2 separate regions of the Homo sapiens genome follow, and region 1 is linked to region 2. The links are contacts of gene promoters, found by promoter capture Hi-C in human tissues and cell types (Jung and others, 2019). All regions are on one chromosome and are shown on one strand. Each heading gives the region's core, a stretch centred on a gene start or on the middle of the fragment in contact. The rest is flanking DNA. Distances are from core to core; before and after follow the strand shown. Region 1 has its middle 130 kb from the start of LINC02227. Region 2 holds the start of EBF1 (EBF transcription factor 1).

The links. The method cuts DNA at HindIII sites, captures the fragments that hold promoters and counts their contacts. A contact is called where the count stands out against the background at its distance.
Region 1: a contact is called between a fragment that was not itself captured here and the fragment with the promoter of EBF1 in region 2, in 1 of the 25 tissues and cell types used here (spleen).

Annotation. Positions count from the first base shown.
Region 1 is chr5:158,274,529-158,280,134 of GRCh38, reverse strand. No RefSeq gene overlaps it. Among named protein-coding and RNA genes, the nearest start is that of LINC02227, 130 kb to the left of the region's middle. The HindIII fragment of the contact is 3,316 bases long and covers 939-4,254 here.
Region 2 is chr5:159,096,421-159,102,173 of GRCh38, reverse strand. It overlaps EBF1 (EBF transcription factor 1), which reads left to right and starts at 2,258. Exons shown (of 16, transcript NM_024007.5): 1 at 2,258-2,829; 2 at 5,044-5,200. The coding sequence starts at 2,696. It overlaps LINC02202 (long intergenic non-protein coding RNA 2202), which reads right to left and starts at 1,691. Exons shown (of 3, transcript NR_109890.1): 1 at 1,336-1,691. RefSeq lists enhancers at 723-1,349, 1,350-1,978, 3,728-4,621, 5,516-5,753 and a silencer at 2,796-3,085. The HindIII fragment of the contact is 15,907 bases long and covers 1-5,753 here.

The DNA.
Region 1 (5,606 bases), core at 1,347-3,846, 820 kb after region 2:
GATTAGGCTTTGGCTTAAGGGAAGGTTGTGGTTGGATTGATCTTCTATCCAGACCAGTAGAACTTTTGCCATATAAGCAATAAGACCGTTTCACTTTCTTATCATTTATGTGTTTCCAGGAGTAGCCCTTTTAATTCCCTTCAAGAACTTTTCTTTTGCATTCACAGTTTGGCTAACTGTTTGGAGAGGCCTTACTGTCAGCCTCTCTCCGCTTTTAACATGCCTTCCTGACTAAGCTTTATAATTTTTAGCTTTTGATTTACAGTGAGAGATGTGCCACACTTCCTTTCACTCAAACACTTAGAGGCCATTGTAGGGTTATCAACTGGCCTAATTTGAATATTGTTGTGTCTCTGGGAATAGGGAAACCTGAGGAGATGGAGAGAGATGGGGAACAACCAGTGAGTAGAGCAGTCAGAACACACACAACAGTTATCAGTTCAATTCTTCATCTTCTATGGGCATGGTTTGTGGCACCCCAAAACAATTACAATAGTGACATCAAAGATCACTGACCACAGACCACTATAACAGATAGAATAGTCATGAAAAGGTTTGAAATATTGTGAGAATTACCAAAATGTGACACAGAGATGCAAAGTGAGCACACGCTGTTGGAAAAATGGTGCCAACAGACTCGCTCAGCACAGGGTTGCCAGAAAGCTTCAGTTTGTAAAAAATGCATTATCTGTGAAGCAAAATTAAGTGAAGTGCAATAAAATGAGGTGTACCTGTCACAGTTTTAAAATAGTTGTAAGAATTGCTTCTGTACTAGCAGCAATGATAGTAGTCGTTGTTACAACAGCGCATCCAAGTTCTATGCTAAGGAAACTCGAGCCCCTTCTTCCATCCTCAGCATCTCAGCCATACTGAACTGCTTCTACTTATCCCCAAACAAACACCATACTGTTTCATCTGTCCTGCTTCTTTTTCTATATTCTTCTTTTTCCTGGATTGTTGGTGTCCTATAAAATGGCCTGCTGAGGTCCAAATCACCGTTCAAATCTCAGATCAAGCATTAGTACTTCTGTGAGCTTTACCCTGATTCCTCAAGACAGCCTTAAACGTTCCCTATCCTATTTTTCTAGAAAGTCTCCCTACTACACTAAGCTAGTGAAGAACAGGAACATTTTACTTTATATTATTTTTGGCATTACTGTATTCCCAACACCTGACACAGTGGCTAGTGTATTGTTGATGTCCATGTAGGAAGCTTTGGCACCAAGGAACAGAAATTTACCTCCACCCCTACCTCAAAATGACTTAAACATGAAGCAAGCATGTTACCTCATACAACATGAAGTTCAAAGGCAGAGTAGGATCCAGGGCTCAGTTAATGTCTTCATATCCGCATGAGAAATCTGGCTCTTCCCATCTCCCTGCTGTCATACTCAGTGAGGTGGCCATGCCTTCAGTACAGAGCCTTTACAGCCACAGCCGTCATAGCCACAAGGCAGCCACACACATCTTCAGGCTCCTTATCCAGGGGCAACAACAGCAAAGAAAGAAAGGAACCATCTTTTCCTGTGCCTCCTTAAGAGCAGCTAAGAAACCTTTCCAAGAAGCCCCCTCAGACCTCTGATATTCATTTTCCCAGGATTAGGTTTTTATGTTCATTCCCAAACCAATCATTCACAAAGGAAATGAGATTACCATGATTACCTTAGGCTAGGGATCAGCAAACATTTTCTGGAAAGAGCAAGATAGTAAACATTTTAGGCTTGGCAGACCATACGGTGCCTGCCGCAACTACTCAACATGCCCTTGTGTTACAAAAGCAGCCACAGACAATATGTAAATGAATGAGTATAGTTATGTTCCAATAAAACTATTTATGGACACTGAAATTTGAATTTCATATAACAGTCACATGTCAGTATTCTTCTTTTAAATGTTTTCAGCCATTTCATAAATCATTCTTAGCTCAAAGGCCATACAAAAACAGGCAGCATGCTGGATTTGGCCAAAAGGCTATCGTTTGCTGACCCGTCACTTACATTATTTGGGGTTAAATGTATATTGAAATGCCATCCACCACAATGTCTCAAGTGTGCAATAAATATTTGAAAAGTTTAAGAATAAACAACTAAAGAAAACACAGCTCTTGTTTATGAGAACTTCATAGGATATCCATGTATATGATTTCCTGAAAGAGATTTTTCAAATAATGGTTTTGTCTAATGACGGTGGGTTCAGCAGAACTAAGCAAACAAACAAAAATTGTTGCTTGTGACAGATTAGCTATTAAATTATGAAATGGAAGATAAATAAAATTTTGTGTTAGAATGTGTGGGAAATACAGAGTTGAAGAACCCCTCATGAATCTAAATGCATAAAGCATTTGTTTGGATGGTAAGGAGGTAAAAGAGATCACTAATGGGTATTTCCAATGTTAACATCTTCTGACTTCACAATTTTCCAAACATAATGTTGCATGTATTCTGATGCAGGCAAAGAGATAATTACGGAGTAACTGCTTGCACTCAGTGTAAATTAATCAAATGTAAATTTAATAAACTGTAAATAGAAGATACTCCTAAGCTGATACGGCAAGCGAATCACCTCCATTATAGACTCATTTTTGCAAAATTACATCTAATCATAGTATTTTAAGATAGTGTTTGGCAAAACATCTCTAAATCTGTCAACAAAAGCAGCTATTACTTCTTTGCGGCTGAATACCTTTGCCAACAAACACCCATCTGTCTGGAAAGATTTATGTGTGGTTCTGCCTGAAGCCAGGGGTAAAAATCTCAATGACCTCTGGGGATTTCTTTCACCTTTGTGTTCAGAGAGTCAATAAAAATTCGTTTTAAAGTAACCTCAACTGCACAATCCGGAAAAAAACTACAAAGCTGAGACGTAATCAAGTTTGTCCCAAGAATCCCCCAAATAGAAATTCTTCTAGTAATTATACAGGTGATTTTGCTTGATCAACAATTTAATCTTGCTTGTCAATTGCTGCTTTAAGAGCCTCCAAGCTCCTTAATACAGCTCAGAAGAAAGACCCACAAGTCCCAATTAGCACCACCATACTTAATCCTCTACCAGACTGATTATTTTAGTTCTTCAAGCACAGACCTTGGCCCACACAGTTCCTTCTGCATGGGCCACTCTTTCTCCCTCCCCACAGCTCATTCGCCCCTTGCTGTGGCTGATGTGTTCTCTACCTTCAGGCCTTGGTTCACACTGGGGGATCAAGGAAACCTTCTCCCTCTCCCTCTACCGTCCATGAATTAGATGGCCCCTTTTAGGTGATAGCACCCTTTTCTTACTGCTTATAGTGAAAGTACTTTTCCGTGTAAGCATTATTCCCTTCAGCGTTGAGGACAGAAACTGGGTCTTCATTATTACAGCAAAAAGCAGAGGAGGCCAAGTTAGAAAGTGATTTATATGCCTTGCTAAAAAGTTTGGGCTTTATCCTGAAAGGTATAGAAAGAAGCTATTGGAGACATTTGTCATGCTCATATATACCTCACCAGAAAGTTCATATCAGCAACATCAGAAATGGACCTCCAGAGGATGAGGATAGACGGTGAGGGGTCCACACTAGCAGCACTGAGACCACTTAGGGAATGATTCCTGTGAGCCAGGTCAGAGAGGATGGAGGCCTGATCTACAACCATGAATACTAGGGATGGAGAATCATGGTCAGTTAGGAGAGACATTTAGGAAGCAGAAATCTGTGCAGTTCGTGACTGAGTACACAGTAAACTGAAAAACTTTGAGAGAGAAAAAAAATCAAGGTGAAATTTGGCTTCTGGTTTGGACAACTAAGCAAATTATAGTGCTAGTCACTTGAGAAAGGTTACAGAAGGAGGAACAAGTAGAGGTATGGAGAAAGTGATGATTACTTCCCTTGATACACTGACTTCAAGAAGCCTGCAAAGCATTTAGAAGGAGGTGACCAAGAGGCATCTGTATAAATACATATGAATCTAATGTAAAGAAGAGAAGTCTGGACCAAAGATACAAATTTGAGAGTCATCGGGTTGTAAAAGATACTGAACTCACCTATGCAGTTCATCAATGTATCAAATGTATATTGAAAAAATAGAGGCCTTGACCAGAAGCTTGAGCAATACCAACATTTGAAGGGTAACAGAAGAGGGGCTCATGAAGAAGACTGAGAAGGAGTGGCCAGAAAGGAAGGCAAAATCAAGAGGAAGTATAAAGTCAAAGGAAAGAGAAAGCTGCAGAAGATAGATATTATTAATCAGCTATGATTACATACCAATCACAGAATCTCAGGTGCATGCGGTAACAAGCATGTATTAACCTGCTCCCAGGTCAGCTACAATGGCTTTGCTCAGGCTGCAGGCATTGGCCGTAGCTGCTCAGCTCCACGTATCTCTCATTCTCTTGGGACCAGTGAGTGCCATGAGGCATGTTCTTCTCCTACTGATGGCAGAAGCCCAAGAGGAACATATGGAAGCTTGCAATGCCTTTTAAGTCGTAGTCTCAGGCTAGCACTCTACTACTTCTGCTTTATTTCATTGGCTAAAATAAGTCACAAGGCTAGGCTGTGCAGGTCAATGGGTAGAAAAGCGGTAAAAAGGGATCAGAACTGTGACTGTGGCTGCAGCAATTTCATAGGACGCTTTGTATTGTCCACAAGTAAAAAGTGACATTGTTCACTCGAACTAAACTATTGTTTTGTATGTTTTCAAACATACCTAGAGTTGGAACCTGGTTGGCCCATCCCTTTGGAGGAATCTAGCATGCCAGGGTCAGTCACTAGAAGTCACACCTTTATAAGAAGCCAAGGGGTTTCCCAGGTAAAAATAATCATACAGCCTGTGAGGATCAGGAGAGTGATAGGGTCAGGCTTTTTTGATATCAAAGGAAAGGCTGGCTCAAATAAGCTCATGAAAGGGGGGGAGTTTATTGTAAAGATATGTATTGAGTAGAAGTGGGAAGCTATCAAGAATAGAGTCATATCCAGGGGCTGAATACTTTCCACAGCTTTCCTTTCACGCAGATCTCATGGTCTCTTTCTCATATTATTTTAGCTTCTGTCTGCATTTCTGGACCATTCTCCTTATCTGTCAACTGATGCTTCTGTTTACTTGTACGTTCTGCTCCATCTGAAATTCTACTCACATGTACCTCTGCCTGGCCATGATTCTAACATGGGACATTTTTCTGTCCCTGCTTCTACCTGTCTTGAGCTCTTCAAGTTCCCCAGTTCAAACTCCTAAGGGGAAGATTTGGATTTTTCCAGCTTATTTCTCACAATGAGTTGTGTCACTGGAAAGCTGATTAATGGCTCACCCTTGAGTCAGGTAGCCATTCCTAATCTAGCCAGTCGTGACTACTGAGGGGAGGTACAGGAGTAAGGAAGTTTCTCTTAGGAAGTACTGTCAGTAGGGAGGTACCAGCTGAGCTTTCTAGTAAAGGGAGGCCCCCAGAACATTGGGTTTAGCATTCAAAGAAGAGTAAGTGGAATGTTCACTCTCTGTTTGGAGAGATCCCCCCATGGAAAGTTCATCCTGAAAGAAGGATTGGAGATGCTGACTAAACCCCAGGTCACTGACCAACTATAGATGTCAAGGAAGACTTCAGCATGGTACCCAATGGGATGCCTCTCATAGATCTCCAATTAA
Region 2 (5,753 bases), core at 1,009-3,508:
CCATTATACTCTTCTTCGACATGAACGCTATGTTAGGAACCCCTGTGAATGCTATGGGGATCCCAAAAGATCAGACCAATCCCTTCAGGGAAGTCCTGGAAGAGATGGCATTAATTATGGTACCAGGGGAAAGTGCTCAGCACACAAGAAGTCTAGATTACATGTGTGAGAGCTGGGCAGGCCTCGTGCACAGGAGATAAAGCAGTGTTTGAGGACAGTGGCCATGCACTGCAGGCCAGGACCACACTCTTTCATCCAGTTTAGGAATCAGGAAGTGGCTCCACTGCTCTGCCAAGAGCACAAAGCATAACTCTTGCCTGTCTCTATTCAACATGGGCATGTGTACTTTTCCATCACTGACCCCATGAGCTTCCTAAATCAAAGGACCAAGGAAGGCCAGCAGAAAGGGGACCTGGATTTCTGGCAGATAATTTCCCCGAAGGAGTCCTTAGCAGATTTGGCTGCAGTCAGGGAGTTCCTTTGAGGGCAATGAAACAGAAGTTCACCATGTGCTTATTAGAGGTTACAACCTGCTAAAAAATGATGGGGTACATTACCCAGAAACTTCTAGCTATTTCCTTTGCCAGCCACAAAGATACATGCTGAAAAGCCTGAGGAGGGAGACAATTTCGTCCTTTTTTCTTTCCCTTTTTCCTTCCATCTCTCCCATTTCCATTCGTTCCTTCTCCTTCTCTCCTTTCTCTCTCCCTCCTTCCTTCCCATTTTCTCTTCCCCTTCTTCCTTTTTTGTCCTTTCTCCCCACCTTCCTTCTCTTCTCCCCCCACCCTTTTCATATGGCAGAGACAGAGTTAGGAAGGATTTGTTCAAGCCCTCCTTTTTAACAGGAAGAATAAAGGAGGATGAGAAAAACCCTACACCAAATAACCAGCTAATCAAGGACGGTTAACATTGCTGTTGCTTTGGTAGTTACTCTAAAAACAAACGAACCAACTACTTGGGGTGGGGAATGAGGGGTTGGCATTTAATTTGAGAAAATTTAAAAACGCATCCTGACACAGCCCCAGTGAGAGCATTCATTCCACCATTCACATATCTCGAGGACTGCCCGAGAGAGGTGAGCGTGTGAGTGAGAACAGTGCCCAACCCTGGCAGCCTCTAGGCTAGCGGCCGAGAGAGAAGCGTTTCAGAGGCCGGGGTGGGAGTAGAGCCTGGTACCCCACTTCCTGGGGACCCACAGCGCCTCATTTGCCGGGGCCCAGCGTCCATTCATCCCTCCCAGCGTGGAGGCCGTGCCCCTCCGAGAGTTACCAGCCCCGACCTCGCGCACCCATATTCCATCCCACCGCCCCCGCCTCAAAGCGAAGAGGTGGGCACCTGGGACGCGCGTCCTGCTTTTTCTGCCCGGGCTCTCCCGTCTCCTCCACTTTTGTCCCCGACGTCCCAGAACGGCGGAGCAGGACGCGGCATCAGCCCTGGGAGGGCGCAGCCTGCGAGCCTCCAGCGCGCTCAGGGCGCGGCGAGGATGCTAAAGGACTGCAATGGCCAGGATGCAGATCCCCAGCTCAAATTCCTGAGGAAGACACCCGCCTCCCTTTCCCTCTGTCCCCTCTCCGTCCTCGCTCGGACCCGCTCCTCCCCAGCCCAGACGTCAGTGCTCAGCGCTCCTTCGCTCGCCACTTTGCGAGGAACTTTGGCCGGCTCCCCTGCGCCACCGGGAGCGGGATGTTAATGAGAGAGCGTGGCCTGGCGCCGCCAGCGAGCCGGCTCCCGGGCCGCGATTGGCTGCGGTGGGCGGAAAGATGACGTTATGCAAATGAAGGGGCGGGGCCTCGATGCGCGGGCCCCGCCTCCTCCCTTTGGGGTTAGTGTGCCTGTGTTTAGCTCTGGGGAAAGTCAAACTGGATTCCATAGGGAAAGCCTGCAAATCACTTCTATTTTAGCAAGGAGAAAACAGAATCTCCATCCAGCAGGGTCCACCCCTCTCTCTTTCTCCCTCTCCTCTCTATCTCTCTTTCCCTCCCCCCCTTTCCTCTCTCCCTCTCTCCCCTTCCCCCCACCCTCTCTGGTGTATCTGTCTACGGCAACCAGCGTCCTCCTCATCTACACGCAAAGGAAAGAAACATCTTTGGTTGGGAGAGAAGGAGGAAAAAAAAAGAGAGAGAGAGGAAAAAACTTGCCTGGTTGTGGAAAATGACACTTGAAGTAGCAAAGCCGGCAGCGCGAGTTGAGTCTATTGTTTCTTAAATTGCCATCAGGGTTTTTTTTTTTTTTTTTTTTTTTTTTTTTTTTTTTTCTTCCTGCTTCTTCAAGTGAAGGGTACCTCTACAAAAGGAAACTCCAGCCCCTCCTGTCCTCCACCGGCCTGTGATCATTACAAAAAAAAAAAAAAAAAAGCAAAAAAAAAAAAAAAGCACCCAAACCAAAAATCAACCAACCAAACAACCCCCAACAGCCAAGCATACATCTCTAATTTTATTATTTTGGTCTTTTCGTTGGATTTTCCCTTTCTTCTTTTTTTCGGGTTATCGCTCAGTTTTGAGCAGAGGTTTACATTTTTTAAAAATTTGCTTTCCAGCCCGCCTTGATCTTCTAAGTGCGAGTTCATCGTCTGAGAAAAAAAAAAATCTCTGGTTGGCGTTTTTGTTTCTTTTCTTTTCTTTCTTTTCTTTCCTTTTTTTTTTTTTTTAATTTTTTTCAAGGGGGAGGAGATTTTCCACAAGAAAAGGTTGTTTTCATGTTTGGGATTCAGGAAAGCATCCAACGGAGTGGAAGCAGCATGAAGGAAGAGCCGCTGGGCAGCGGCATGAACGCGGTGCGGACGTGGATGCAGGGCGCCGGGGTGCTGGACGCCAACACGGCGGCGCAGAGGTGGGTACTGCGCGGGGACCGCGGCCGAGGTGAGCCGCGAGCGGGAGAGCCGGGAGGCGGAGGCGGCAGCGGCAGCGGCAGCTGCTGCCGCGGGGCCGGGCGGCGGGGTGAGTCCGCAGCCGCTGCGCTCCGCTCTCCGCCGGGGCTCCGCGCTCTCCAGCCGCTCTGCCTTCGTCGCCTGCGGCCGGAGGACCTGGAGCTGTCTGCGAGGAGCCCACGCTTTGCCAGCACTTTCCCCTGCCTCGTCTGTGACTGTTTTCATTTTGTTTTAACCCAGAAGAGGCGTCTCAACACAGCATGTTGGAGATCTGTGTTTTATGTTTTTATGTGATTGCTCTTTCTTTTCCGGCCGGCTCTCTTTTCTTCTTTCCCTTCGCTCTTCCTTTCCCTCTTTTCTTTTTTCTTTCTTTCTTTCTCTTCCTTCCTTCCTTTTTCTTTCTTTTTTCTTTTTCTTTCTTTTTTTCTTTCCTCCTTTTCTTTTTCCTTTTTCTTTCTCTTTCCTCTTCCTGCCTTTCTTTTTTCTTTCTTCCTTCTTTCCTTTCTCCCCCCTTTATTTTCTTCTCTTCTCCTTCCTCTTCCTTTCTTCCCCTCTTCCCTCCTTCCATTTCTTTCGTTCTTCGTTCTTTCCTGTCTCTCTTCCTGCCTTCTTTTCTTTCTTCTTTCTTTCATTTCCTTCTCTCATTTCTTTCCCCCACCTTCCCTTAATTTCTCCCTCACTCTTTTCCTTCCTCCCTTCCTCTCTCCATTTTCTTTCTCTTCTTTCTTCAGCTTCCCTCCTTTCTCCTCTTTCTCCTTTCCTTACCTCTCTGGCTTTCCTGTTTTTTCGTCCCATTTCTCCCCTGAGTCTTCTCTTATTTCTGCTATCTCGTTCTCCTTCCCTCCCTCTCTGTCTTTCAGTTTTTTCTTAGTCTACCGGTAGAATAGCAACTCCCAACTTTAATTCTGATATCTCCCAAAAGTCTTCTCCAGCCCCTGTCACCATGGCCCCTTCCAGCCCTTCTCTCACTCGCAGCTCCCTAGACACTAGACTGTGTGGCCTGGAGGCATTGCCCTTGGAGGTTGACCTGAGGGAACTTTCCTGGGCACACCCAAGGCTCTTTCCCAGGCTCCTGGTCCCAAGTGAGAAATGGCCTTTTTCCCCCCATTAAGCCACCAGCTGAGCTTGGGACAGTGGGAGATCTGGTGGCCCCAGGCCCTATCGGACTCAGAGTGCGGAAGGGGAAGAAGGAAGATGACTAATTACATCATCTCCAGCTTCCCTGGGCTGGGGACAAGTGTCCCCAACACTGTTCCCATCCCCACTGAGTATTAGGATGGGGGTGGGTGGTAGTGAGAGTGAATTGGGTAACTGGGCTGGAAGTGAAAGTGTGTGCGCGGGGCGCTCGTGTGTGTTCTTCTATGTGTGTGTGTGTGCCTGTGCGCGCTTGTGTTGGGCAGGTCCGGCTGTCAGTGGCCGCCTGGCGCCCCAGGCGCTCCAGCCTCCCATCGCCGGCCGGCGCACTGAGCCAGCAGCCCTGGCCTTTAGGATTTCTGGAATGAGTGTGAGGATTTCTGCGGAACAGCGAAACTTTGTTAGGACAGGTCTTTAAGAAAACACCCCTCTTCCCTTTTTCACAGCGACCACCCGCGACAGTTCTGAGCCCCGCCCTCGGACCCTTCTCCACATGCTTTTTGGTGGTGGGGGGATGTGGCTTCCCAAGGCCGGGCACTCGCAGTTGGCCAGAGCTTGAGGGGTTCCTGGAGGGTGGCTGCTGCGGCGAGACGCCGAGCATGTTTTCCATCCATTCCCACCTGCCCTGCTAGCTGAGACGTGAGATTCGAGGGGTGCCGGAATATAACTGTGGGTTCTACTCCGCGAAGGTGGGTTCACTTCATCCACCGCCACTTTTCTTCCTCCCCACGCAGTGCGTGTCAGGTAGGAGTAAATGCTTATAGAGTTTCATCTCGCGCGCAAAACCCAAACAAAACTTTCACACCTCTTCAGCGAGTTCTGAGGACGCACCCGTCCTTGGCGGAGAGGACGAGGACATGAGGGGACATGTGTGTCCCGTTGTCAGCTGGGTCTATGTCGCCTGAAGGGGCGTGAAGAGCGCCCACTGGATGTTTTGGGGGAAGAGGAGGTGGGTGTTTGAGGGTTCGAGTGTGTGTACAGGGTGACAAGGGGCGCGGGTCGGCGTCCGGTTTAGCCATCTAACTCTGCGTCTTTGGCCGCAGCGGGGTGGGTCTGGCCCGGGCTCACTTTGAGAAGCAGCCGCCTTCCAATCTGCGGAAATCCAACTTCTTCCACTTCGTCCTGGCCCTCTACGACAGACAGGGCCAGCCCGTGGAGATCGAGAGGACAGCGTTTGTGGGGTTCGTGGAGAAGGAAAAAGTAAGTGGGCGCAGCGCTGTCGCCCCTCGTCCCCGGCTCGGCTCGGGAGCAGGCCCGGGAGCCTTGGGCAGCGCGCCCTTCCTTGAGTGCAAAGCATCCATAACACACTTCTATGTGGGGGTCCCCCAAGCCACTTCCCATCCCAGACGAACCCAGGGTCCTGGTCCACTGGCTCCTTCTCCAGAAAAGTTCGCACGGAGCCCCCAGAGCTAGAGAGAGGCAAGCCTGGCTCTACAATCCACAGCCATGGGCACCCGGAATGAACCCGCCCTCCACTACCAGATTACGCACCGCCTGCCTCTGGTGGCCGGGGCACGAGCCCCTAGGCCCTGGAAAGAGGATAGCCTGTGTGCGCCCGACGGAATTTTCTTTTGGGAGAGAGGGAGCAGTCAGGAACAGGGGGCGGAGGAGGGATCACAATTGGCCACAATTTCTGCTGCTACCGTGGCTGCCTGGCTCGCCAGCGGGGGTCCCGGCTTGGGGAAAGTTGCCTCGAAAGTTGGTCCACTCGCTCACGCAGACCTCTCTCCTGCATCTCTTGTGTCTTTGCGTC